Linked DNA regions of Homo sapiens: regions 1 and 3 are each linked to region 2. Evidence: promoter capture Hi-C in 16 types of primary human blood cells and fetal thymus (Javierre and others, 2016). All regions are on one chromosome and are shown on one strand. The core of a region is centred on a gene start or on the middle of the fragment in contact, and the rest is flanking DNA. Distances in the headings are between cores, read along the strand shown. Region 1 overlaps MMS22L (MMS22 like, DNA repair protein). Region 2 holds the start of MMS22L (MMS22 like, DNA repair protein). Region 3 overlaps MMS22L (MMS22 like, DNA repair protein).

Region 1 (4,369 bases), core at 176-2,675, 94 kb after region 2:
ATATAGCAACAATTGTTCCTGTTCTTGACTCTAAAGAAAACAGCGAGTTGGGAGGTTACTTGTTTTTCCAAAGCCACACTGCTCTGGATAGCTATGCTAATAACCATGTTTATTACGCAGCATAATTACTCCTTTTGTCTCAATTTTCTCATATATAAGATTTGAATAATAATTATGCCTACCTCATAGGGTGAGAAACGATGCTTATAAAACACTTTGCATGGTGCTGGTCTCATAGTAAATACCAGTAAATGCTGGATGTTGCTGTTATTTCCACCATGAGAGCTGCAATTTGAATAACTTGACATTCAGCAAATTTATTTTCTACTATACTGTATTGTATCTTTTATAATGTAAGAGAGCTGGTTACATGTGTGTATTTCCTTATCTGATCTTGTATTTCCAAACTGATCTTAATGTGAAATCTGTCTTTACTCAAATAAAACAATTGCCAAGTGTTGGGAGATCCTACATCCTTGTGTTATGTCTTTCAGTTTCTGACCAGAAATCACATATTTTTCCTTTTATGCAAAAAATCTACTTACATATTTCTACTGTTTGTGTTGAAGAAGGTAAATAATGCCTCATAAAACAGCCATCACCTAGAACTATATTACATTCTTTATAATATTTTATGTATGTTTTGTGTTTTCTTTTACATTGTTACCTCTAGTGACAGAGCTTCTTCTTTGCATTTTTGTAAATGTACCTTCAGCAGATATGCAGTGGTCACATCTAATATAATTTATTTTTCAGTAGTCTGTATAATTAGTTTTCTGGTTCAAACATGTGATTTTAAAAAATTACCAGTGTCTGCAAGGAGTATTTCTAGCTATTTGGCTATAGTGCAAAAATTTGGTTCTTCCTTCAGACTTCTATTACAGTGCACTCTTGGCATTTCCTGTATTTGTCACTCACTGATTTCTTTATGCTTAAATAAATTATTATTATAAGGTCTTAAACAACTAGGTTCTGGTTTAAAATAGCAGGTAATCATTTCTTCTTATCCAGACTGAAAAAGCTTGAACTTTCAAACTATTGAGCAGGAAACATTTTGCATATTCCCGGGGATATTAGCTGCTTTTCAAATCCAAAAACACAAAGTGGGTGCACATTTCCAACACAAGTGTGGTTTGGGGTCAGTGTCTTACCCTTAGTTGAAACTTGTCTTAGCTGTTTTAACTCAACCTTGGAGGATGTAATCTATAGCTTTAAAATTTTTTACCTCACAATGGTTTTTTTTTTTTAATTAATTATTCTTTTTTTTTTTTTTTTTTTTTTTTTTTTGGAGACAGAGTCTCGCTGTTGCCCAGGCTGGAGTGCAGTGGTGCAATCTCAGCTCACTGCAACCTCTGCCTCAAGCAATCCTCCAGCCTAAGCCTCCCAAGAAGCTAGGACTACAGGCACATGTCACCACGCCCGGCTAATTTTTTGTATTTTTAATAGAGATGGGGTTTCACTATGTTGCCCAGGCTGGTCTTGAAATCCTGAGCTCAGGCAATCCACCCACCTCAGCCTCCCAAAATGCTGGGATTAGAGGTATAAGCCACTGCACTCGGCTTTTTTTTTTTTTTTAAACCTAATGGATTCAGAACTTTGAGTCCTATCCCCACGTTAGCTCATACTTATACTCCCTGGTACCTCAACGTTTTGTTGTGGAGAGGTCAAAGGTGGTTCACATTTGTTGGCCTTTCTCATTATTGCCTTGAATACATGTTTTCTAGCATCTCTTCTTATAGTCTTTCCTAATGTTAGAATTCTGATGTTGCTCCTGGCCCTTCAAAAGACACAGCTACATGTGGCTTTTCCAGCCCCTTTTCTTAAGCTTTCTGAAATTCCTTTATTTTATTTATTATTATTATTATTTTTAAATTATTTTGAGAAAGTCTTGCTCTGTCACCCAAGTTGGAGTGCAGTGGCACAATCTCGGCTCACTGCAACCTCCACCTCCTGGGTTCAAGCAATTCTCCTACCTCAGCCTCCTGAGTTGCTGGGATTACAAGCGTGTACCATCATGCCCGGCTAATTTTTTTGTATTTTTATTAGGGAGGGGATTTCACCATGTTGGTCAGGTTGGTCTTGAACTGCTGGCCTCGAGTGATCCACCCACCCTGGCCTCCCAAAGTGCTGGGATGAAATTTCTTTAACCTAAGTAGAAAGAGAAGATAATTTATCAATGTTTAATTCACTTAAAACTTGTGTATGTGTAGGCGCATAAGGGTGCATGTCTTAGTGTGTAAAAAGAAAAGTGGGCTTCAGAGTCAGATTTAAGTTCAGATGATGGGGCCAGCCCTTTCTAGCCATGTGACCTTTGGGCATATTTAGCTTTCCTACTGTTAGCTTCGTCATCTATAAAGAGGATTAATGATACCTATCTCATAGAGTTGTTCCGATTTTAAAAGAATTTAATTAATTTAAGGAATTTCTAGCACATATATAGAGGTCGATCAGAAATGTTACTCCTTCCTAGGGAATAGGTTTTAGTTAGTAAATAAAATGGCTTTTTTAGATATGGTGAGCAAAATCCATCCTACTCAAGTACCATAAGTTATTTATTGTCTTTTGAAACCAATATACTTTGAAAAAGCTATAAAGGGCAGTAGAAATGGTGGTATTATTTTACATGGATTCCACTGTGTAGAAATGTACTGTGAACTTTGCTATGTTGATATAGGCAGTTGAGTTAGTTGCCAGATAGATTTTAGTGGTTTGTTATTTATCTCACTCTAAGATAAAGGAACTGAAATGGTTCTCTAGCCACTAGTTCAAGTTGAAAGCATCTCAAGAAGTTTTTACAGAGAGGACATAGCAGATATTTGGTTAGCTTTTATGAGAATTGTTTACTGTATACTCTTTCCCCAGCCATTTGTTCACTTGTTTTTTGAATATTTCCTGTAGTATTAAGTAATATCCCATAATTTTCCAGGAATTCCAATGTAAAGGGGCTCAAGGCCCTAATGTTATACAGTTTATACTTAGAATTTTTACTCACTCTTGGGTAGTTATGCGAAATATTCTAAGATGTGATCTTATAACCAGCTTGATCTTTTTGTGGGATTGCTTTAGATACACATGCTAGTTCTGTGTTTTGTATAGTTCTTTCATGTTATCCACTTCCCCTAAACTGTTTAAAAACATCAAACATCTTTTTTAAAGTACTTAATTATTTTTCTTAGTGGAATGCTATCTCTATTAAAGGAAGTCTTCTCCATAATTTCCATTGGTTATTTTTTGCTGCTTTCTGTATAATTGAAAAAAAAATGCAAATGTAAATGTATCCATGCATTTATGTCTACTCAGTTGATCTGGCAGTAATATAAACAGAAACAGGAATAATAGCATGGTTGTACATTTAGTTTTAAATAATCATATTATCAGTGGGTGCACAACATAAATGCCTTCTGTTCCACATCACTAAGAAGATCTCTTATTTCCCTCTCTTTGGTAACCTCAATTTCCTGCACGTTTCTATTAAGGTCTAGAGATATCTAAATTTTCGATTGAATTAATCAGCAAAGGTGAGTAAATGATTAATCAAAATTTGAGGCAGTATCGAATTATGTTTTATTATTTTATGAAGAGCAACTTGTTATTGTATATTATTGCCTACCAAGTGAGAATGATTATGAATCTTTTGGGACCAAAGTAGTAAGATTGTATCTAGCATAGTTTTGTCTACTACACAAGGCCTGTGTCTTCTAAACAAGGAAAGTATTTTAATTTAAAATACCACGCATAAGCCAGTTGTACTTACCTTCCTCTTGGTACATCCATGTCCTAAAGCCCTCAGGAGAAAATTGTTTTAAAAATTGTTTTCATGTCTAGATTTTAAGTAAAAATCACTTGTCATGTGTGAGTTGCAAAATGCAGACCTTCATTCTGAAGCTGCCTCTTTCTCATTTGGATCTGACATATTAAAAAGCATATAATTAATGGTTGACATTAGTAGTTAACATTAACTTTATGATGCTTAATATGCCATCATTCATCCATCAAACAACCAGAAATGCATAATGTCTTGGCATAAAGGTTTTAATTATATAAAATGTTTCTCATATGATATAAATGGAAAAAGCTCAAAATGTACTTTAAGAAGATTTTTGTAAGCATTTATTAAGGGTGTTAGCTGTATTTTTATTTCTTTTTAGGAGTATGCATCAACAATTGTGTCAGGAACTTCAAAGGGACAATGTGGACCTATTTGTACAGTCTTCATTATCGGCTAAAGAGCGCCACCTTGCTGCAGTTGCCAGTGCACTGTGGAGACATTTCTTTTCATTTTTGAAGAGTCAGAGAATGTCACAGGTAGTGCCTTTCTCACAACTTGCGGATGCAGCTGCAGGTCAGCATTAATTATTAATTTGCTAAT
Region 2 (4,583 bases), core at 1,396-3,895:
GCTGAACTCATAGTTTTTATATATATTTGTAGAGATTTTTTTAGGATTTTCTATATGAATAATTATGTCATCTGAAAATCAAGACAGTTTTACTTCTTCTTATTCAATCTATATGACATTTATTTCTTCATCTTCCTTATTGCATTGACTAGTTACCTCCAGTAAAATGTTGAGAGAAGTGGAAAAAGTGGACATCATTGCCTTTTTCTCAATCTTAGGAAAAGAACATACATTTTTATAACTAAGTATGATATTAATAGCAGGTTTGTCATAGATATCACATATAAGGTAGGGAGTTTTCTTCCATTCTTAGTTGGCAGAGAGTTTTTATCATGAATAGATGTTGAATTTATCAAGTGATCTTTCAGTGTCTATTGAGATGACAGTTTTTCTTTTTATAGACTTGATATAATGAACTGATTACTTGTAGAAATTTGAATAACCTTGCATTCCTAACATGAATCTAATTTTCTTGTCATATGTCATCCTTTTTGTTTGTTTGTTCTGAGGCGGAGTCTTGTTCTGGAGTACAGTGGCGCGATCTCGGCTCACTGCAACCTCCCCATGCCGGGTTCAAGCGATTCTCCTGCCTCAGCCTCCTGTGTAGCTGGGACTACAGGCACATGGCGCCATACCCGGCTAATTTTTGTATTTTTAGTAGAGACGAGGTTTCACCATGTTGGCCAGGCTGGTCTTGAACTCCTGACCTCAAGTGATCCACCCGCCTTGGTCTCCCAAAGTGCTGGGATTACAGGCGTGAGCCACTGCACCTTGCCATCATATGTCATCCTTTTTATGTACTGCTGGATTTTGCTTGCTAACATTTCTGCTTTTATGTTTGCATGTGATATTGTATTGTAATTGTCTTTTGTCAGGTTTCGATACCAGTGTGGTGCTAGCCTCATAAAACAAGCATCCAATCTCCTAATTTCTCTAAGAGTTAGTATAGAATTGGTATTACTCCTTCCTTAAATGTTTGGGAGAATTTAATAGTAAGGCCATTTGGCCTGGAGAGTGTTTGTTTGTTTTGTTGCTTTTGAGAAATGGTGTTGCTCTGTTGTCCAGGCTGGAGTACAATGGCACACTCACAGTTCACTGCAGCCTCGAACTCTCCAGCTCAAGTGATCCTCTCACCTCAGCCTCCCTAAGTAGTTGGGACTACAGATGAGCACCACCACGCCTGGCTAATATTTGTATTTTTTTTGTGGAGACAAGGGACAGGGTTTCACCATGTTGCCCAGGCTGGTCTGGAACTCCTGGTCTCAAGGGATCCACCTACTTCAGCCTCCCAAAGCCACTGTGCCTGCCCTGGCCTGAAGTTTTCTTGTAAGAAGTGGTGTGTGTGTGTGTGTGTGTGTGTGTGTGTGTGTGTGTGTGCAGAGAGAGAGGAGGGAGGCTTAACCAAAGATTCTGAGTACTACGATAAATACAGAGATACTCAAATTTTCTTCTTTTGTTGATTTTTGACAGTTTGCGTCTTTTAAGGAATTTGTCCATTTCACCTATGCTTATTGGCATAAAAATGTTCATAATGTTCTTTTAATATCCTTGTCCTTTTAATGACTAAATTTCATAGTGATGAAACCTTTTTAATTCCTGATACTGATAATTTGTTTATTTTCTTTATCAGTTTGGGTAGGGGGGTTATCAATTATATTGCTCTTTTAGAAAAACAACTTTTGCATGTATTTCCTTCCATTTATTTCATCCCATTTATTTCTACTATTTATCATTTCATTCATTTTGCTTGCTTTGGTTTCAATATGCTGGGGGTTTTTTCTAGTTACTTAAGACAAAAGTTTATTGAATTGAGTTCTTCTTTTTAATGTAAGCAGGTACTGTTACAAATTTTAGTGTTTTCATTTTAATTTAATTCAACGTATTTTCTAATTTTCCTGTGATTTTTCCTGATTCACAGGTTAGTTAGAAGTATGATTCTTAATTTCCAAATATTTAGAGTATTTCAAGTATCTACTTTATTTCTAGTTTAATGCCATTATGATCAGACTATACACTTTGTACGATTTAAATCTTTTTAAAGTTGATGACATTTGTTTTATGGCTCGGAATATGGTATCGCTTAGTGAATGTTTCATGTGCACTTGACAGGAGTGTGTATTCTGCTATTGTTGGGTTGGTCACCTATAAACGTCAATTAGGTCAAGTTGGTTAGTGCTTTCCAAGTTTTCCATATCCATACTAATTTTCTGTCTACTTGTTCCATCTGTTACAGAGAAAATTAATTGTTGCACTTGCCTGCCTCACAGTCCATGGACAAAAGGCATCTGCATTCTAACAAGAGTTGCTGGCCCCAGAGCGGGAAGAGGGGACGGCGCGACTGTGGGTGTGAACGAGGCACTCACTTCGCACTCACTGGAGTAAATATCTTCTCTTTGGTCCGGCCAGAGGATAAACCCATAGTCCTTAAGTCCTCTCCTCCGCCTCAGCAGCAGTTCTGTTTTTTTTTTTTTACCAGGCCCCGCCTTTCAGCCGAACGCACCAATTAAAGGTACAAAAAAAAAAGTTTCTCAGTACCTCGTCCCGGACTGACGGACTCTCGCGAGAATTCGTGGGGCTCCGACTGTTTCCGCGCAGATATCGCGAGGCGATTGGTAGCCGGGGGAGGGCTGCGCCGTGGCCCCGCCTTTCCGGAGCGCGGGCGCGCGGTGGCGGGAATTTCGCCTGTTTGCGGTTTAGACCCCAAAGATTCCTGTTGGTGGTCTGGGTCACAGGAGGCAGGTTTCGGGAGCTGGAAATGTGAGCGGGTACGACAGGCACCGCGGGTAACCGACGCCCCGGGTCCTTGCTGCAGCCGGGTACGCGGGATACCGGCACCCCGCCTTCTCCGCCCGAGTGCTGCCAGGCGTGGGCCTGGTGGGTCTCGCCTCCTCCTTGGAGGGTCGGGGTTGGCCCTAGGGGTTGCTTTCCTAATTTCCACCCCGAGCCGGGGAGGGAGCGTTCTCCACCCTGCTGCTGGGAAACGGGCGGAGAGTGGTTTAGAAACGTTGCGGAGGGCGCAGTTCTAGGCAAGCCCGGGACGCTATGTCCTGCAGACATTTCTTTGCTTTTCACCTTGTCCTGGGCTGCAGAGCCCGACTTAGTGGCCGGATTTCGAGGTCCCTGCCACAGCCAGTTGGTTGTGCATTTTGTCTTAAGTTCTGACAGCCTTGATGGACGGAGGGCGAGGGGGAATTGGGAATTTGGCCTCTGGGTTTGTTCGTTTGTTTTTCCTTCCTGCTGGCGGACGTCTTGAGAACTTTCTGAAGTAATCCCCACTCTCTCGGCCCCACCCCCCCCCCCCCAACAGGAATCTCTTCACACCTTCTCTTTGGAGCCCTTAATGATACGACGAACCCCAAGTGTTTCAGAACATGAAGTAAACAATGGAGAACTGTTCTGCTGCATCGACGTTCCTGACTGACAGCTTAGAGCTGGAGCTGGGGACGGAATGGTGCAAACCTCCTTACTTTTCTTGTGCTGTTGACAACAGAGGAGGAGGAAAACATTTTTCTGGAGAATCCTACCTCTGCAGCGGAGCCCTTAAGCGGTAGGTAAAACTCAGAGACATTTTCCCTCATCTGATTATTCACCAGTTTTTTAGGAATGTTAGTTATTTCAGCCCATTAAACTTTGGTGTTCACCAAGTCGTGTTTTATAAATCAGCTTAGTATATCATAAGGGTACAAATGATTATCAGTTCTGCTGGCTTCTTGGTAAGGGCATATCTAAAGTATTTGGGGTATTAGGGAAAACTTCCTTGGTAACTGATGTTCCCTTACTGTAGGGAGCTGGGCACTAATTTTTCTTCTACTTAAAATGAATTCCTAACTATCTGAGCCTTTTGCAGTAGTATTTCCTTCTAAAGAGTGTGATAATATTCTAGAGCTTTCCAGTAATATTTAAGAGAGACAAACATTTTTTATTGCCCCTGTTCCTTCTAATCCTACCTGCACATATAGAAGTGTATAGACTTATTTTGCCTTGGGCAGGTACATATATATTACAGTAAAACTGTTCTTGAAATATTTTGGTAATACCTGCTGAGGCAGTTTCAGTGAGGAAACTATTTTTGTTGACCTTATAGTTGTACCTTGTTAGAAATCTTAAATAGAATACTCAACTTCATTAGTTGGATACTATTCTCCAGACATGGCTCAGAATAACTGTTAGCAGTTTTAAAATTAAATGTCCCCTCAAAGGATGAAATTCTACAACTGAAGACTACTGGTGAAGACAGGCAGAAATATGTTTTTTAGAATTCTTGTTGATTTTTCCTCTTAAGTTACATTACACTTTAGTCGTACATTTTATCAATATAGAAGATTGACGTTTTAATACAGTCTAGCTATTGTAATCTTGAATGTGTAAAGTACCAAGGCATTTTCTGACTTTTTATACATGTCATGTATAATATGGATTCAAATAATGTAAAGAAAAGAGCCGTCGTATTATGGTACTTAGTATACTTTTTATGAGATTGAAACAATTTTCATTTCAGATTGATTTTGAATCTTGACCCTTTACCAACTAATTTTGAAGAAGATACCTTGGAAATATTTGGCATTCAGTGGGTTACTGAAACA
Region 3 (4,874 bases), core at 341-2,840, 110 kb after region 2:
CATCTCTCTCATTACACTTCATCTATCCTTTTCTTGTGATATGATATTATTTATAGTTTGCCATTTGTTAAAATTACTTGTGTACTTGACATGCCCCCACCAAATTTCAAACTTGTAGTAGCCATCTCTTGAATTTTTTATTCCCATTGTCATGTATTTTGAACAAAAAAGAACAATTATTATGTATCAGGTGCTGGATTGAGAGTTAGGGATACATTAGTTAAAGAGCTCCAAAGTAGGAGATAGTGTATACTATATAAATATTTATGGAATTTAATGACTTTATTAATCTAGCAATAGTATATATTTTTTAATGTTCTTTTTGTTTTTCTTTGTTGTTGTTGTTTTTGAGACAGAGTCTCCCTCTGTCACCTATGCTGAAGTGCAGTGACGTGATCTCAGCTCACCGCAACCTCTGCCTCTGGGTTTAAACAATTCTCGTGCCTCAGTCTCCTGAGTAGCTGGGACTGCAGATGTGCACCACCATGCCTGGTTAATTTTTGTATTTTTACTACAGACAGGATCTCACTATGTTACCAAAGCTGGTCTTGAACTCCTGGGCTCAAGCAGCCTGCCTGCCTCAGCCTCCCAAAGTGCTGGGATTACAGGTGTGAGCCGCTGTACGCAGCTTTTAATGTTCTTAAATGAACAAAATTACTTTCTAACTATAAAGATTTAAAAATGTATATTGTAGTGATCCCAATTTTTACGTAGGGTAGAAAGTAGGCAAAATACATAGGATAGAAAATACAGAGGATAGAAAATGAGTAAATACTCAAGAGCTTGTATAGTGGTTATCATTGAATGGAGAGATTGTATTAAATTTTTTTGTATTTTCAGTTTTATTTGTTAATAAATAATATATTTATAGCCAGAAAAAGAAAAAAAAAAACTTAGGTTTTTACAAAGGTACTGTATGTATTTAAACCTTTCCCAGTTTTTTACTTTAAAAATCTTTTTATATTTCCATTTTGCATTTTTAATAACACACACACAAATATTCATTGCTGAAACCTAAAAAGTAGGTGTCTGATAGCAAGGAGTAAAACAAATATCTCCACCTTATATGAACTCCTAAAGCTTACAGTCTTCAACAAAGTGTTTCAACCGTTGCAGAAAATGAAATACAGTAGTTTCCCCTTATTCATGAGGGATATGTTCAACACCACTAGTGGATGCCTGAAACCGCAGATAGTACCAATCCTATGTATGCTGTGTTTTTGCCTATACATACATACTTATGATAAGGTTTAATTCATAAATAAGGCACATAAGAGTTTAACATAATAACTAATAATAGTATTAATAGAACAGTTGTGACAATAGACTCTAATAAAAGTTATGTGAACTTTGTGTCTCTCTCTGACTGCCTTCCCCACCCCCTCGTCAAAATATCTTATTGGTATCCTATACCACGGGCAACTAAACTATACCACGTGGTACCCTATATCACCGGTAACTAAACTATACCATGTGGTACCCTATAGCACGGGTAACTAAAACTGTAGAAAGTGAAACATACCTGTATTGCACCTGAGAGTAATAAGAATCATTTCATATGCCAGTGATGATAGCAGTTCCCCTTACAGGTATATTAATGTTTTTAGAATATAAGTTCTTCTAATATTGCTGTCATACTGAAATTCTCCACCAACTGAAGAAATGAGGAGCAAGCCAGCATTATTTAAAACTTTGCTAAGTGAACATTGTTTCTTTATGATTGATTATTGTACTTCCTTTTACAACAAAAGATGAATGTTGCTGTTTGTTCTTAAAAGTGATAATTTGTTGAGTTTTTTTCTTTAACATCAGTATACTTTTCCATAAGCATATTTTGGTTTTCCTTCAGAGCTTAAATTTTAAACTCTTTATTTGATGGAAATGACTTTGAATTTTATCGTTTTTGCTTTCTAGGATGGAATAAAATATAAAAGTTTATGCAGTAGATGTACCACTGTGCTTTTTGGATAAGCATTTAATCTGTTTTTAAATTCATTTTTCAGTAAGGAGACCTCAATAGTAATAATATATCCTAATGGGAATTATATATCTGCTCTTAATTACTTTATTAAACAAAGGGTGCTCATTTGTTAAGCTTTATTATCATCAGATGTGGCAATTAACAGACTTCTAGCACCAAGGAAGCCATAATATATTTCAAGTAGCAAAGAAATCTGTTTCTCTTCATTCAGAATTAAAATTTTGTTTGTTTATATTAAATAATGGAAAGGTGTAAAAACTGAAGTTCATGGAGGTTAACTGAAGTTGGTGGAGGTTAAGTGATTAGCTTATAGCTAATCCTGCTTTCCATGTATTAACAATTAAATTTAATTATACTTCTGTTGCAAACTGGATTGAGGCCACTTACATGTAAGATTAAAATATGAAGAAATAGGGGTACCAACAAATAAATATAGAGTTTCATGGTGAGGCCCAGGGAAAATTAGTATGCATATAAAACCATAATGTATAATCCTACAGTATTCTTTAAAAGGTGGATTGTTAATTTGCATTTGGGCATCCTAGCAACTCAGAGGGAAAGCAGAAAGGGAAATCCTGAATAATTTCAACATTCAGCCAATGTAGTCACATAATGTATAAATATATTCCACTGTATGTGTGAGTGTAAACAGGTTGACTAGCCCTTGTCTAAAATTCTTGGGACTAGAAGTATTTTGGAGTTCAGATTTTTTTGGATTTTGGAATACTTGTAGTATACTTAACCAGTTGAGCACCCCTAATCCAACAGTGTGAAATTTGAAATGGTCTAATGAGCATTTCTTTTGATCATCATGTTGGCACTCACAAACTTTTGGATTTTGGAGCGTTTCAGATTTTATATTTTCAGATTAGGGATACTTAACCAGTGTATATATTAAATGCCAGTTGCTCGGAAAATGTATGTTTTCCTTGGCCCAAAACTCTATGAAAAATTTGTCTCTTTAGTGAAATATATGAATTGACATAAATATTTGTTACTTCTACTATATGTCTCTTCCTATTCCCTACTTTAATTTGGTCCCATGTGCTTTCAATACAAATTTTTAAATTAAGTGACAAAATGTTCTGGTCAGAGGATAACAACAACATGCTGTTACTTCTCTTCTTTGTTAGGAATTCTTGTGAAATCATGGGCACAAATCTTTGCCACTTCTAAAGCCCAAAAATTACTATTCCGGATCATAGATTGTTTACTGCTGCCACATGCAGTATTACAGCAAGAGAAGGAACTGCCTGCACCTATGTTGTCAGCAATTCAGAAAAGTCTTCCTTTGTATCTCCAGGTATAGTATCTGTGGTTGCTTAAAAGTTTAAAAAAAAAATATTGAAACTTTGCCTTAAAAACATAGTTTACTAAATGCAGATTTAAAAACTGTACATTATAATCTCAAATGCTTGTGTGGCACATTTATTGAACATATTTTAAATTGCTTTTATGTTTGGCTTTGGAAACAAAAATGAAAAAGCAGAGGAGCTTAAAGTTGAGAGAGGAGGTAGATGAGCACAGACACTTATGGTAGTGTGCTCAGTATTTTTTTTTTCAGACCTCATCTATTAGACTATGGGTGAGGAGATATAAGAGAATACACTGTAGAGGACATCAGAGGTAAAAGAGCAAAATGGGTAGGAGTTGGAGGGCTTTTCATTTCAGAGGGAGCAACATGTACAAGGGCATGAGCTTTAAGAAAATATAGAATGGTTCTGTTGTGGCTGGAGAGTCATATGGGAGGAGCCATGTAATGGAGGGCTTTATATTCCATCCTAAGAAGTTTGGACTTAATCTTTTACATGGGGACCTGATGAATTTGGAGCAGAGAAGTAGAAGTGACATAATGATATTTACATTTTAGAAAGATGATTCTGGTGGTCATATGTAAGATAATTGGTGTGGAGGTTTTGGAAAGCAGTGGTAACTAGTTCCTTGTAATAATCCACATATTGTCAGAAGGTTTTGACCTAAGGCAGTGGGAATAAAACCCATAACAGCAGATTTCAAAAACATTTGGGAGCTGTGATTAAGAGTACTTGCTAATTGAGTGTTGTGGAGGAACTCAAAGAAGTGAAATGCTTCCTAGATTCCAGAGTGGCTATCTGCGTAGATAGTAGTTCTACTTACTAACGTGGGAAATCCTGGAGATGTCGGGATGAAGGTAAGGATTGGTTTCTGAGCAGCTTTAGTTTGAGGTAGGCAGTTGGAAATATTGATCTGCCATTCAGGAAAGGATGAGACTGGAGGTGTACTTTATTATTCATTAGTGTCTGATGTTAAAGATAAGTGCTTCTTAATTTGAGGTCCAACAAGGGAAGCTGAGGAGGAAAGGGAAAATGGATTTTGATTATGTAACAATCTTTTTTCAAAGATGTATTTCTTAACAGAGTTTTAAGATTCCTGAGAAGTTTTAAATTTTCCCTCTAATTTTTATTCATAATAGCATTTAAAATGAAGTTTAGTGTGTTAATCTAGCAGAATGACAAAAAGGGGAGGCAGCCACACCACAGCCTGAACCGCCAATCCCACAGAGGGAGAGATGAATAGAGGGGAGTGGTGAGCAGCAGGAGAGTCTGGAATATTTCTTCCATGTGGTCCTCTTAAACCCAAACAGTCCATTTAATAAGAATTCTCTTAAGCTTCGTAAGTGGTAAATTTAAAAGTTTGGTGTATTATCTGTTTGGTAGAACTGGAGCTATGTCTTTAATTTCTTCATGGTACCCAGCTCTCCTCTTCGGAATTTTCAGAAAATATTCATTTATTACTTCATCTTCTTCTGATTTAATGTGCTTTTCCTTAAACTACTCAAGAAACAGAGTTGGTGGTGGCGGGTGGGTTGGGGGAGGGGTTCATTGTTTGATTTTTTTCAGTTGTTTATTTGGTA

The links. Contacts are between HindIII fragments. The CHiCAGO score rates a contact against its expected background, and 5 or more counts as called.
Region 1: a contact is called between a fragment that was not itself captured here and the fragment with the promoter of MMS22L in region 2, in 1 of 17 cell types (erythroblasts). The highest score is 5.5, in erythroblasts.
Region 3: a contact is called between a fragment that was not itself captured here and the fragment with the promoter of MMS22L in region 2, in 1 of 17 cell types (erythroblasts). The highest score is 6.6, in erythroblasts.

The regions. Positions count from the first base shown.
Region 1 is chr6:97,186,470-97,190,838 of GRCh38, reverse strand. MMS22L (MMS22 like, DNA repair protein) reads left to right here. Exons shown (of 25, transcript NM_001350599.2): 15 at 4,149-4,342. Among named protein-coding and RNA genes, the nearest start is that of MMS22L, 95 kb to the left of the region's middle. The HindIII fragment of the contact is 804 bases long and covers 1,024-1,827 here.
Region 2 is chr6:97,281,278-97,285,860 of GRCh38, reverse strand. It overlaps MMS22L (MMS22 like, DNA repair protein), which reads left to right and starts at 2,645. Exons shown (of 25, transcript NM_001350599.2): 1 at 2,645-2,765; 2 at 3,308-3,547; 3 at 4,499-4,583. The coding sequence starts at 3,384. RefSeq lists enhancers at 2,369-2,428, 2,809-3,068. The HindIII fragment of the contact is 13,882 bases long and covers 1-4,583 here.
Region 3 is chr6:97,166,481-97,171,354 of GRCh38, reverse strand. It overlaps MMS22L (MMS22 like, DNA repair protein), which reads left to right. Exons shown (of 25, transcript NM_001350599.2): 20 at 3,115-3,284. Among named protein-coding and RNA genes, the nearest start is that of MMS22L, 110 kb to the left of the region's middle. The HindIII fragment of the contact is 1,015 bases long and covers 1,083-2,097 here.